3 separate regions of the Homo sapiens genome follow, and regions 2 and 3 are each linked to region 1. The links are contacts of gene promoters, found by promoter capture Hi-C in blood cells and fetal thymus (Javierre and others, 2016). All regions are on one chromosome and are shown on one strand. The core of a region is centred on a gene start or on the middle of the fragment in contact, and the rest is flanking DNA. Distances in the headings are between cores, read along the strand shown. Region 1 holds the start of TENT5C-DT (TENT5C divergent transcript). Region 2 overlaps GDAP2 (ganglioside induced differentiation associated protein 2). Region 3 overlaps GDAP2 (ganglioside induced differentiation associated protein 2).

Evidence for each region. The method cuts DNA at HindIII sites, captures the fragments that hold promoters and counts their contacts. A CHiCAGO score of 5 or more calls a contact.
Region 2: a contact is called between a fragment that was not itself captured here and the fragment with the promoter of TENT5C-DT in region 1, in 1 of 17 cell types (naive B cells). The highest score is 9.6, in naive B cells.
Region 3: a contact is called between a fragment that was not itself captured here and the fragment with the promoter of TENT5C-DT in region 1, in 1 of 17 cell types (naive B cells). The highest score is 5.7, in naive B cells.

What each region holds. Positions count from the first base shown.
Region 1 is chr1:117,603,867-117,607,606 of GRCh38, forward strand. TENT5C-DT (TENT5C divergent transcript) reads right to left here and starts at 1,904. Exons shown (of 3, transcript NR_121626.1): 1 at 1,780-1,904; 2 at 923-1,070. TENT5C (terminal nucleotidyltransferase 5C) reads left to right here and starts at 2,182. Exons shown (of 2, transcript NM_017709.4): 1 at 2,182-2,287. RefSeq lists enhancers at 996-1,496, 1,497-1,997 and a silencer at 1,908-2,247. The HindIII fragment of the contact is 6,964 bases long and covers 1-3,566 here.
Region 2 is chr1:117,891,071-117,895,314 of GRCh38, forward strand. All of the region lies in intron 8 of GDAP2 (ganglioside induced differentiation associated protein 2), which reads right to left. Among named protein-coding and RNA genes, the nearest start is that of GDAP2, 36 kb to the right of the region's middle. The HindIII fragment of the contact is 1,778 bases long and covers 2,034-3,811 here.
Region 3 is chr1:117,909,457-117,913,691 of GRCh38, forward strand. It overlaps GDAP2 (ganglioside induced differentiation associated protein 2), which reads right to left. Exons shown (of 14, transcript NM_017686.4): 4 at 3,074-3,227; 5 at 2,538-2,626. Among named protein-coding and RNA genes, the nearest start is that of GDAP2, 18 kb to the right of the region's middle. The HindIII fragment of the contact is 3,432 bases long and covers 978-4,235 here.

The sequences.
Region 1 (3,740 bases), core at 654-3,153:
CTACAAATGAGCGAAAGACTTGAACAGACACTTTATTAAAAGGGTATTGAAATGAACAATAAGCATCTGAAAAATTGCTCAACATCCTTGATCATCAAAAAATGCAATTTTAAATCACAATGAAATACATATCCCCCCCCTTTTTAAATTAAAAAGACTGAAAATACCAATACTGGCAAAGATGTGAAACAACCGGAAATCTCATATCACTGGTTGGAACCTAAATTGTTATACGAATTTAAAAACTGGCAGTGTATTTAAAGTTTAATATGTGAACACTCTATGAACCAGGAATCCAATCCTAGGTATATATATATATCCAACATAAATGAATGCTATGTCCACCAAAAGACATGTGTAAGAATGTCTGCAGCAGCTTCATCAAAGGCAGAAACATGAAGCAACTCAAATGTCCACCAACAGTAGGATGAGTACACAAATCGTTGAATATTTATATAATGAAGTAATACACAGTAGTGAAAAAGAATGGACCATTGTTACACACAACAATATGGATGAATCTCATAGACGCACTGTTGGGCAAGAGAAGCCAGACATAAAATTGTACGTGTTATGTATTTCATCCATAGCAAGTTCAAATATTGGTAAAACTAATCTATGGTGATAGAGGTTAAAATAGTGGTAATCCTTGTCGGATACTGAATGGGAAGGGGCATGAATGAGCTGGAAAGGTTCCACATCTTGATATGGATGGCAGTTACATGGGTATGCATATGTAAAAAATTATCATTCTGGACACTTTTGATTTGTGCGCTTTACTGAATGTTATACCTCAAAAACAAAAAGTAAAACAAAAAATCAGATCATATGTCTTGATTTCGCGTCTAACAATAGGATCACTGGCTTTCCCTATAAACACTCATATTGATGTCCTATCGCATTAAAGTTCCTGGATACTCACTCTCCTCTCCCTCGCTGGGAAAGACATATTTGAGAACTCTTCATAGTCTGACAGACAGGAGAACCACACTTATTTCAGGCAGGGTTGGAAGAGTAGGGCGGAGGAGATGTAAATACTGCATCTGGGAAGTAATCTTTTCCCCCAGCACCTAGTAAACGATCAATACAAGTACAATAATGTCTATTGATAAATAACATTGTCCAACATTGGCTACTATCTGATACATACAGCATTTGCCACACACTTTCTAACAGGCACTAGGCAATGCACTAATTGTTTCCCACGTATTTTCTTAATACTTATATAATTCTACAGAGCTGTCCCATTGTTAGTCTTGTCCTACAGATAGGAGACGCAGGTTGTTGGAGGGTTGGTTCAGTTACTTGCCTAAGGCCTTACAGAAAGTTTAAGTGGTGCATGGAGATCTCAACTCAGATTAGTCTGAATTCAGAACCTGGGCTGTAAACCACTCGCTATGTTATGAATGGATGGTGTCCAAGCCCTGCCTGCATGTTATATAACACACTGGACCAAGTGCTGTGGCATTCCGAATGGGGCCGAAGCGGCTGCGGCTGCCGACATTGGCGATGGACTCCCCGAGGCCCTTCGTCCCACTAACTGCACACAGGTGGTCCCCGGGGCCAGAGAGCCGCCGGCGCTCTCTCCCCGAAGACCACGCCTTCGCCTCCAGCCAGTTTGCTTGGGGAATCAGAAAGGTGCCCAGGGCCCAGAAACCATTAAGTTTTTTCCGACTTCAAAAACACACACCGGAGGTAGGCGTGGGCGTTACCCGCCTCACTCCTGGGGGCAGGGAGAACCAACGCGAAAATCCCCAGAGAGGCGGAAGAAAAACCTGCCTGCGAGAGAATAGGATGGAGATGGGAAAAGCCTGGGGAAGAGAGAGTTATGCGGCAGGAATAGCAGAAAAGCGTACTAAGCAAAAAGAAAGGTGTCCCACTAACTCCGAAGTTAAGTGGGTGTCGACGCAGCCCCCTCTATTGCGCTTGCGCAGTGCTGCCTCCCTGAGCACCCCGCCCCTTCCCGCCGCTGAGGATTTACTCGTCTCTTGGCAACCATTCACCCGAAGAGCCAATCAGAGGGCAGCCCTCGCCCCGCCCCTGCCGTCAGGGCCGGGCGGAAGGGTCCCGAGGGGACTGGCTCCGCCACGCCCCGCCCCTGGCTCCCCCGGGAGGGCGGCTCAGGGGCGGGGACGGGGGCGTGGTCCCGCCGTATAAGAACGGAGGGGGCGGCGGCGGGACGGCTCACTCGGTGCCGCTGCCTAGGGGCTGTAGAGGTCGCGCCGCTCCTGCTGGGGCCTGCCCACGCCAAGGACCTGCCTCTGTCGCCTCCTCTTCTATTGCCCAGGTGAGTCCGCGACCCCCCTCCTCTAAAGGTGCGGCGATGCGGCAGCAGCCCCAGGGAGCCGCGAGCTCACTTAGTGGGGGTCCGCCCCCACTAAGTGGTGCTCAGGTCTTTGCCCAGCCTGGTAGGGGGCAGGCGGACCCGAGGGGAGCTGCGGACAGGTGCCGAGACCCGGTGCTCCTTTCCCCTCCTGCTCCCTCGAGGACCCCCGCCCCTGACACACCCGTCCCAAAGGGCCAGAAGAGACGCTCCGAAAGGGAGCTACAACTTTCCAGAGACCTGGGGCTTGGCAAACTCCAGCGAGTTCCTGCTCCGCGCGTCCTGCAGGCTGCGCGCTGGCCAGGCGCGGGCAGGGCGTCTGAAGAGTGTGTGATCGGCGCCTCCGCTCCTACCTGGATCAGACGGCGCCCCCCGCCACCCATGCCTCCCTTCCTGGCTTGCAGTCCCTCGGGCTCGCCCCGGCGCTCCCGCGGGCGCGCACACCTTCGCCGGCCCGCCGAGTGTGAATTCGAATTCGGCGGTTTCACTAGGCGCAGCTGGAGACGCAGCGGTCCGGGGCTTGGATCTGGTTGGGGAGGGGAGGGGCGCTTCCTAGGCTCATTGCCAAGTCCTGAGTTTTAAGGAGAAGGGCGGAGATCCTTAAATTTAATGCGCTCACATCAGACTGTGGACACCATGAGCAGCAAAGGGATCCAAGCCAGTGACTTGTGCGCTGCGCGTCTCTCAGAAACTTCTTGGGAATGCGGTGTCTGTGAAACCTGCTTCCTCTCCTTTTGAAAATGAAACTTGCTTTACTGCGTAGGTGAAAAGCCACGGCAAGTGGGTCGACTCGGACGGATACCGGTGCGGCTGCCCCGGGAGGTGTCGCAGTTCGGGGACTCCCTTCGCACTGGTCGCGAGGCAGGAGGGAGCAGGGTGGGAGGCGAGTCAGAGGAGGGTGACTTACCTGAAGAATACAGGTTGGTAGCCTGCACACCTGAACTCAACGCTGGCGGGCGAGAAAACCAAGCAGCGCTACCTCCAAGTAAGGGCGCTCCCCTGGAGAAATGAATGCCTGGCGAGCTTCTGGAGAACCCACTATTAGGGCTGGACCCTGCGGGAGGGATAGTGTCAGCTCCCTTCCCCTTCGCCCTTTTTTGTCCATAGGTAGGCTTTTGTAGGGCTCTAACCAGTTCCCTGGCTTAATTAAGTAGGGGCCTGCTTCCTTTTTAACATTTTTGCTTTCTTACGGAGATATAAAGTGCATACAAATGAAGTGCTTAAAATGCACTTATAGTAAGAAAGCTTTTATAAATACTATGTGCATAATTATTTGTATTGTGACAACTTGGTCTTCAGGTTACTTTGTAGGTGGGTTAGGAGACTGAACCAGCCCAGGAAATAAAGTTAGGGTGATTAGATCCTCCCAAAGTACACTTCTGGCTGGCTCAGCTGCCCTCTGCGTGCAGGAAAGAGG
Region 2 (4,244 bases), core at 1,673-4,172, 290 kb after region 1:
ATCAGAAATCTGAAACACTTCTGGTCCCAAGAATTTTGGATATGGCATACTTAATCTGTATATATCATGTATTCATACTAGATAAAAACTATAGATTTTTTTCATTCACTCTCTCACTGATGGGCACTTGGGCTGTTTCCAGGGTTTTGCTATTGTGAAGAGGGCTACAATCAACTTGTTTTGCGTGTCTCCTGGTATACATGTGCATGATTGCTCTTGAGTAGGTACCAATGAGTGAAAGTGCTAGGTTACAGGGAATGTTTAATTTTAGGAGATAAGGACAAACCTCTTTTCCAAAGCATTGCACCAAATTATACTTCTATAAGAAGCATATGAGACTGTGAATCCCTGTCCTCACCAACACTTGCTACTATTAGATGTTTTAGTGTTTGCCAGTTGGATAGGTTAGAAATGGTAAAGCATTTCTCTGGTCAGTAATGAGGTTGAGATTCTGCTCATGTTGACTTGATTCTATGAGATGCCTGTTCCTATCATTTTTCCATTTTTTATTGGGTTATTTGATTGTTTCTCACCAAGTTGTAGTTCTTTACACATTCTTGATGCTGATCATTTGTTGTGTGTTTTGTGAATATCTGCCCCCATTCCGTAACTTGCTTTTTACTTTGTTTAAGCTTGGCTCTACTTTCAAAAGTTCTTAATTTTAATATAGTCAAAACTATTTTTTCTTTGGTGGTAAATGCTTTTCATGTCTTTAAAAAAATCTTCCCTTTCTCTAAGGTTTGAAGGATACTAGCTTAACTTCTTCCACAGGTTTCAGAATTTTTAAAAATTTAAGTCCTTAATCTATCTAAAGTTGATTTGTCCATAGTGTGAACACAGAATTAGTATAAACTCTAAAATGTTTAAACCTTGATTGATGATTAACAACTTGAGATCTAAAGATAGACTTTGGTTGACAAAATCTCTATGAACATATTTGTGGGGAGAAGTTTATAGTTTACATCAGATTCTTAAAGGGTTCATGATTTTTAAAAGGTTAGAATCACTGCTGAGACACTGGTCCTGTTCTGGTTTCTAAGGACCATGCAACAACTCATGATTGCAATCTTCATCAGGTTTCTTCTTTATTCTAATTAAGTCTCTGCCATTACCACTATAGATTGTGTAAGTCTGATTATTTAGTCATTATTTTAAAAAAATCACCAGTTGGGAAGAAAGAGTAAAAGCAAAAAGACTGTTACTCTTCTCACTCAATAGACAATACCCTCCTTTTTTTCTAAACTTCATTATTCAAAGAATATTTCATGTTTTCTATTACATTTCTTATAAACAGCACCTCACTTTTTGCTATAGTGTTTTGTTTTGTTTAAAGGAAGACATGCAATCTTTTGTTCCAATCCAAAAATCAAAACAAAGCTAAAAGGAAAATATGAACTCAAAATAGTTTCTGGGTTTCCTACAGGATATTTCCTAAATATCCTATATAGAGTACTTTCTTATTCCAAATAAACAAACTTCTATTATTTTATGAGTAAATATAATAATCATGGATAAATAATCGTACAAAATATGTCAAAATGGCAGAAAAAAATAGCCACTACAGTGCTCTAAATGCAGAAACACTAATTAGTTTCTCAATGGGTTGCAACCAACTGAGGTTGGACACTGTTCTCACAAAGCTAATATAAGCCAGTTTCTTCCAGTTAATAAATTACCATCCACCTGTACAGCCAGCAGCTGAATGACAAAAAAAATTTAAACTGTATCACTCTTAAAAGACTAATAACTAACCCATCTGTGTATAATCATCGCCCAGGGAAAATTCTGTCTTTGGAATTAGCAGATGCTTTCCCAGACCTTATACAATTGACCCATCCTAGATTTAGTTAAGATCTTTGTTGTATCCTCTTATTGACCCTGTACAGTAATTTAAACAATTATTCATATACTAATTAGTTTAACATTTTTCTCCTCTGCAAGACCCTAAGCTCCATGCAGGCGGGTGCTGTATCTGTCTTGCTTGTCACTTTATTACCAGTAGTATCCAGCACAACATTTGGCACATTAGTAAAAGCTTAATAAGTATTTAATAATGAAAAAGATAATGATTTTGTTGAGAAAAATGACATAAGAGTCACAGGCAATTGAATCTTAAGCCAGTCAAGTAATACTAATAAAAAAGGAAAGGAAATCTTCCTGTAAAATAACTTGAAGAGTTTCAAAAGCAGTATTTTTGAAAAAGAGTATCTAGGTTGCTTCCTAATTTTGGTAAGTAAACCAATGTCTACCTTATGATACACCCAAATCAGAATCACAACTGGATGACAGACCTGGATTAGAAAGCACGTCTAATTTTTCATGTTAAAAACAATTATTTTGAAGAGATACTGAGGTGACAAGGCAGTGCTACGAAAGGAGTGACATAAAACTATTGCCAATCCATGTGACCTTTAGTTTCGCTACTGATGGAAGAATTGAAGGCTTTTGAAAAGATATTTACTAACTAAAAACCTACTTACTTTTACATTTGTTCAACCTAATTAATTAACATAATCAACAGAAGCCAGACTCAATATGTGAAAATAAAAGCCCGATTTAGAAATATCAAGAGAAAGAAATTTTAAAAACTACAACCTACAATCTCAAATACGGCTGAGCATGCAAACAGTTGACATAGCTTAGTTATATCATAAACTCCTCAATAAACAGCCATCAATTCTAAAACTTTTTGGTCTCAGGACCAAAATATATCTATATAAAACACAGACATTTTTATGTTTTTATAAATTATTGAGGACCTTAAACATCTTTTGTTTGTGTCATTTATATCTACCAGTTCTCATTAGAAATAAAAACAGAGAAATTTAAAAAATATTCATTAATTTAAAAACAATGAAAAACCTATTTTGTGAACATAACTTTTTTTAAAAAAGCTGTATTTAGAGAAGAGTTGTATTTTTTAACTTGCAAATCTCTTTAATTTCTGCTAGATTCTCATATGTGCGTCTGCATTTAAATTACTGTAATATCACATAGTGAGTGGCCTCCAGAAAACTCCATTGAACACTGTGAGAGAATGTGAATGAAAAAGAAAAATAAGTCTCAATAACATTTTTTTTTTTTTTTGAGACAGGGTCTCTCTCTTTCGCCCAGGCAGGAGTGCAGTGGTGTGATCACAGCTCACTGCAATCTCCACCACCTCCTGGGCTCCTCAGCCTCCTGTGTAGTTGGGAACAGAGGCATGAGCCACCATGTCTGGCCAATTTTTTTCTTAAAGAGATCCTGAAATGCCTTTAGGAGGCTGTAAGTTTAAAACTATTTTTGTAATAACATTATTTGCATTTTTCACTGCATAGACATTTACATTGATAGTGCAAAAGCAACTAATGGGTAAAAACAGCTGGTAATAGCCTTACCACAAATCAAGGCAGTGGCACCAATAAACAAAAAAGGCCAGCTGCATTTAAGAATGTCTTCGATGTAGAAGTAAAGATTATTAATTTTATTAAATCAGTTCTTGAGAACCCATCTTTTTAAATTAATGGAAGACAAAATGGAAGAACACATAAAGTACTTCTGCATATTGAAGTGTGAAGTTGCCTTGAAGAAAAGCACTATTTGATTGAGTTGTGAGCTGGACTAGTTGCTTTTTTTCATGCAACACCATTTTTACTTCAAAGAATGACTGGCAAACTGTAGTTATTCAACATGAATATGTGGCAGGTGTTTTCCCAAAAATGAATAAAGTGACCCTGACATTTCAAGAAAAATAATCAACAGTATTTGTTGCCAATGATAAAACTTGAGCTTTAAATATATACATATTTGAAACATTTTTATTGTCATCAGAAGCTTGACAGTTCCTAATATTAAATACTTTTCTGATGAGATTGGTGATACTATACAATCGATACTAACAAATATAATTTTTTGATACTGTGTAATGAAATGTGTCAATACTTGGAGCTCTGAATAATTCAATGAATCAATACTTTCCAAAAAGCTAACGTATCATGTTATAAAGTCATGCTATACATTCCTATTATAAAATCTGTCCAAAGTACAGAACACCACATTTTAATATAATAGAATTAAAAAAATTCATGGATACAGTTTGAGATTCTGCATTACAACTATGTTTTAAAACACTACTATTTATCAAATTCTGGTATAGTATCAAAGAAGAATATCCCAATTATTTTAAAAGGCTGTTAAAATACTCCTCCATTTTCCAATTAAAATCTCAGTGAGGTCAGGTTTTCTTCATATACATTAGTCAAAAC
Region 3 (4,235 bases), core at 1,444-3,943, 310 kb after region 1:
TGATAATAGTTTAATAAGAAAGCTTTTGATACTAAGGACTTCGAGTTATATCATTAGATTTGTTCTTGGCCCATATATGTTACAAAAGTGTATAAGCCATTTGTTTTCCAAATGCTTGATAAAGTATTCAAGCAAAAGGCATCATCTTCTGTGTAAGTGTTTGAATGAAATGCTACAGTTTTGCCACTAGATTTAAGGCCTAATAAGTCAAATGTGCCCACTTTTTAAGAGCTGTACATTTCCTTTTTGCTAATTATATTTCTAGAAACTGCTTCATCAAAGTCCCTTATACCCATTATTGATCTTTATCTGCTGTTACTCTCAAAGTTGACCTCTTTCATAGTACTGTATCAAGTGATTTGTCTGGGGCCACAGAGCTAGAGTTGGACTGGTAGAATTAGAACTAAAAACCAGTCTTCTTAACCCCCTATTCAGAACCTTTTCTACAAAATAATGCTGCCTCTTTAAAATAGAATCCTTATGATTACCTTAATAAAAAATAGATATATAAAAGAAGCTATGAGATGATATGACAAGGACTAAGTAAAATCAGAGAATGCAGAGACCAGCCAAAAGCCTTGTCAGGAGCAATTATATCAAGGGAGGAATTTTGCTTTCGTTAGGTACCATTTAGAAGATAGGCATGTAATAACATAGTAGTCTTCCACTGAAGCAGTTCTAACTCAAGCATAATGAATCATCTAGTATAACAGACAGGTTACTAGACCTGGGAGTCAGAAGGTCTGGATATATGCTCCAAGTCTGCATAACCCTCATAACAGGAGAAATTTCTGAGACCTTTTATTTGTACAACGGACACCACACTACCTAAAACACAGGGTTGTTAAGTAAAGTAAGTGGAATTTACTTGTCCCTTTTAAAAATATATATTTCTTGAGCAAGTACCATATGTCAAGCATTCAAGATAAAAAGATAAGATCCCTGCCCCTCAAGCTCAGTCTAATGTAATGTATATAAGCTTAATTATAAAATATACAAATTTACTATAAAATCCTTGAGCAGTTAGAATATTGGTTTTTAAAATAGGTTATAATTAAATAAGACTAAGACTGAACAGATACTCACCCTAAACTCCAGGCTACATAATAATAACTTATACATTCAAATATCTTTTTGGTATTTGTGGATATAAGGCTTTCAGCTCTTCGACTTTAAATTCTAGAGATAACAGGGGCTCTTAAAGATGATTTAGTATAGTTCGTCTCTGAAATGAGAAGTGTTTTCTATAACAGCTGCAACAGATGGTCCTGTAACCTCTGCATGAATGTTCCTAGTGACAAGAAGTTCGCTAAAATACTTTGCTGTTACAGTTAGTACTACTTCAAGTGGGACCAACATTTTCTTCCTTATAACTTGGTCTTAGACCTTGCCTTGTACAGTTGGAGTTCTTATCTACAATCCTGATGAGGATCTGTAAACTTCCTGAAATAACATGCAAATTCTGTATTTATGCACATTTTTCTTGACAAAGGGTCCATAGTGTTCTTTCACCAGATGCTCATCGTAGTTTATGACAATATCCCAAAGAACTGCTGCTTGAAAAATGTAGCACAGAATAAGTCCAAATGAGATTCCTTCAGATATTTGAAGATGGACATCATATTTGCTAAAAGCATGCTCTTCTTTAGAAGAAACACCACTACTGTTTCAAACTGTTTGTCCTCCTGTTTGTCAGTGTCTCATGCAATATGACACACAGAAATATATATAAAACTCAAGATGTGGTCTAAATCTGCATATATACAGTGAGATCATGGACTCTCTTTAGCTGAATGCCATATTTTTATGTGACATACAGGCATTTGGCTCATATTGACTGAGCCCAGTCTTTTGAAAACCTAAATGCAGAATTTTACATTCAAATAGCATGTGTGAATGTGGCTATTTAAACTGCCAAGTGTTATACAAATATGATATCATGAAATCTGACTGCATTTGTTACAGACTGTTAAGATTATTCTAAATTCTGATTTAACTACTCAATGCATTAGCCATACTTTCTAACTTAGCATCACTTTCAAATTCAAGAGGCTAGCTGCTCTGAATCTATTCTGGTTTTGGGGGCCGTCCAATTCAAATCTCATTCTTTGCTCAATTAAATTCTGTTAAATTAAAAAAATTAATAGGCAAGTCTTCTGACCCGTTATTCAAATGGATAAAAATGCCAACCTGAAAAAGTAAATTGAGAGCTCTGCAACTTGCCAATAAAAACTTCCCTCCAGGGAGCCACAATCACTTAATCAATGAATATTCTTTGGCTGTAACTATTTAATGATTAAAAAAAAAAAAAACCTTTTTTTTTTGAGATGAGGTCTCACTATATGTTGCTCGGGCTGGAGTGCAGTGGCTATTCATAGATGCAATCACAGCTCACTGCAGCCTTAAACTTCTGTCCTCAAGTGATTCTCCTGCCTCAGCCTCCCAAGTCGCTGGAATTACAGGTATAAGCCACCATGCCCAGAATTTAAAAAATTTTTAAGATTCAATTCATGTACAGCATCTCTGATATTACTTACGAAGTGCTATGTGTGTTGCATCCTCTAAAGGATAACCACGTTTTGCAGAATTGATGACACAGAAGCCAACAGAAGACATTGACTGCTCTCTGCAACAAAGGGAAAACACAAAAATTGCACTAGAAATATCAGTAATACATACACAACAATATATAAGTAATTTCAAAATCTAGCTCAACTTCTCCTTTCCTCCCTCTTCAACAAATCTACTATAATAGCTAACCCAACTGTACCACTCAATAATTCTATTCATATACAATTTAATTGCACTCTTTGGAGGATATATATCTCACATAAAAACTGAATAAAAAATGGGAAAAGGTTAAATTCTCAAGTCACTCAAATCTATCCCATTTATCCCGCTAAGTTTGAAAAGATAATTCTATTGTCAGGGTCCTCCTAAATCACCTAAGTCCCTCAAAATTTGACTTCCACTGCTAGGTTTTTAATCTTTAAAAACTGGGGCCTTTATCTTTAAAAACTGGGGCCTTTAACAATGTATGATATGCTATGTCCAGAAAATGAGTAGACCATACTTTGCTAGTTGAAGTACGTTTCTGTAGCAGCTATAAAGGGAACTCTCAGCTGCTGTGCGATAGCGGCTTTTATATTTAGGTCCCACTGTGTGAATGATGAACCGGGCAGCTAGATTGAATCCTTTTGTCAATTTTGCTTCACCTGTTCGGCACCCTGAAAACAATGGAAACACACATAAGTTTGGATGTGTTAGGAAAACAGAAACAAAAACAAATGAAAGCATGAAACAGAGAAAGTATTGAGAACTTTGAGAAATTTCAGTTAAAAATACAGACTGAACACAAGCATTTATCTCTGTTACTTCTGTTCCCAAAATGACAGTGAAGCAATACAATAGGTATAAGCACAGAGACAGATAAAGAGAATGAGAAAGACCATGAAGCAGATAAGCATCATCAAAATTTTGGAAGGTAGAATGTCAACTGACTAGTAACTGACTCAACAGAGCAGACAAACCTAATTGCTTGCAGAAATGAGATAACTAATACGAAGCAAGTTGATCTGTACTGAAAAGCAGTGTTGGATACAAGACAGACTGCTTTGATTCAAATCCTGAGTTCCTGTCAAGACACTCTGGGCAGGGGCTTAGCCTTGTTACAACCCAATTTCCTATTTAAGAGGGATACTAGTAGTACTTACTTCACAGGATTAAACGAGTTACTATATGCAAAGTGCATACATGCATAAGAAATTATTGTTATTATTACTAGAGAATGCTAAAAAGGCTCAGAAATTGGAGCCCTAAGTACTTGTAAAGGCTATGCTGTCAAGTGGGATGTGGTGCTAAAAAGAGGAGGTCCAGTTAAAAGTTTGTATAAAAACAGTCAAATCTGCAACAACCCCTCCCCCAGCCAGCACAGTAAGGTGATGATTTTTTTTTTTTTTTTACCACCAGAGCAGCAGGGAAGAAGTTTATTCTCTGGAGATGCTCAACTAGAGAGTTTCTGGATTCCAGAACCCCAGGCACAGCTGAAAAGAGGGGATTTAGTTAAAGTGTTATACTTAACAGTGAAAGGTCTAGCCCTCTGCCCCTAAATGGCTTTCAAAACAGACATCTAGGCTTACACTCCTGGAGGATTCCTTTCCAAGAAATTGAGAGGCCCAAACCTAAAGGACCTACAGATAACTGGGGAAGTTCCCCAATAAAATAACAGGCAGGAG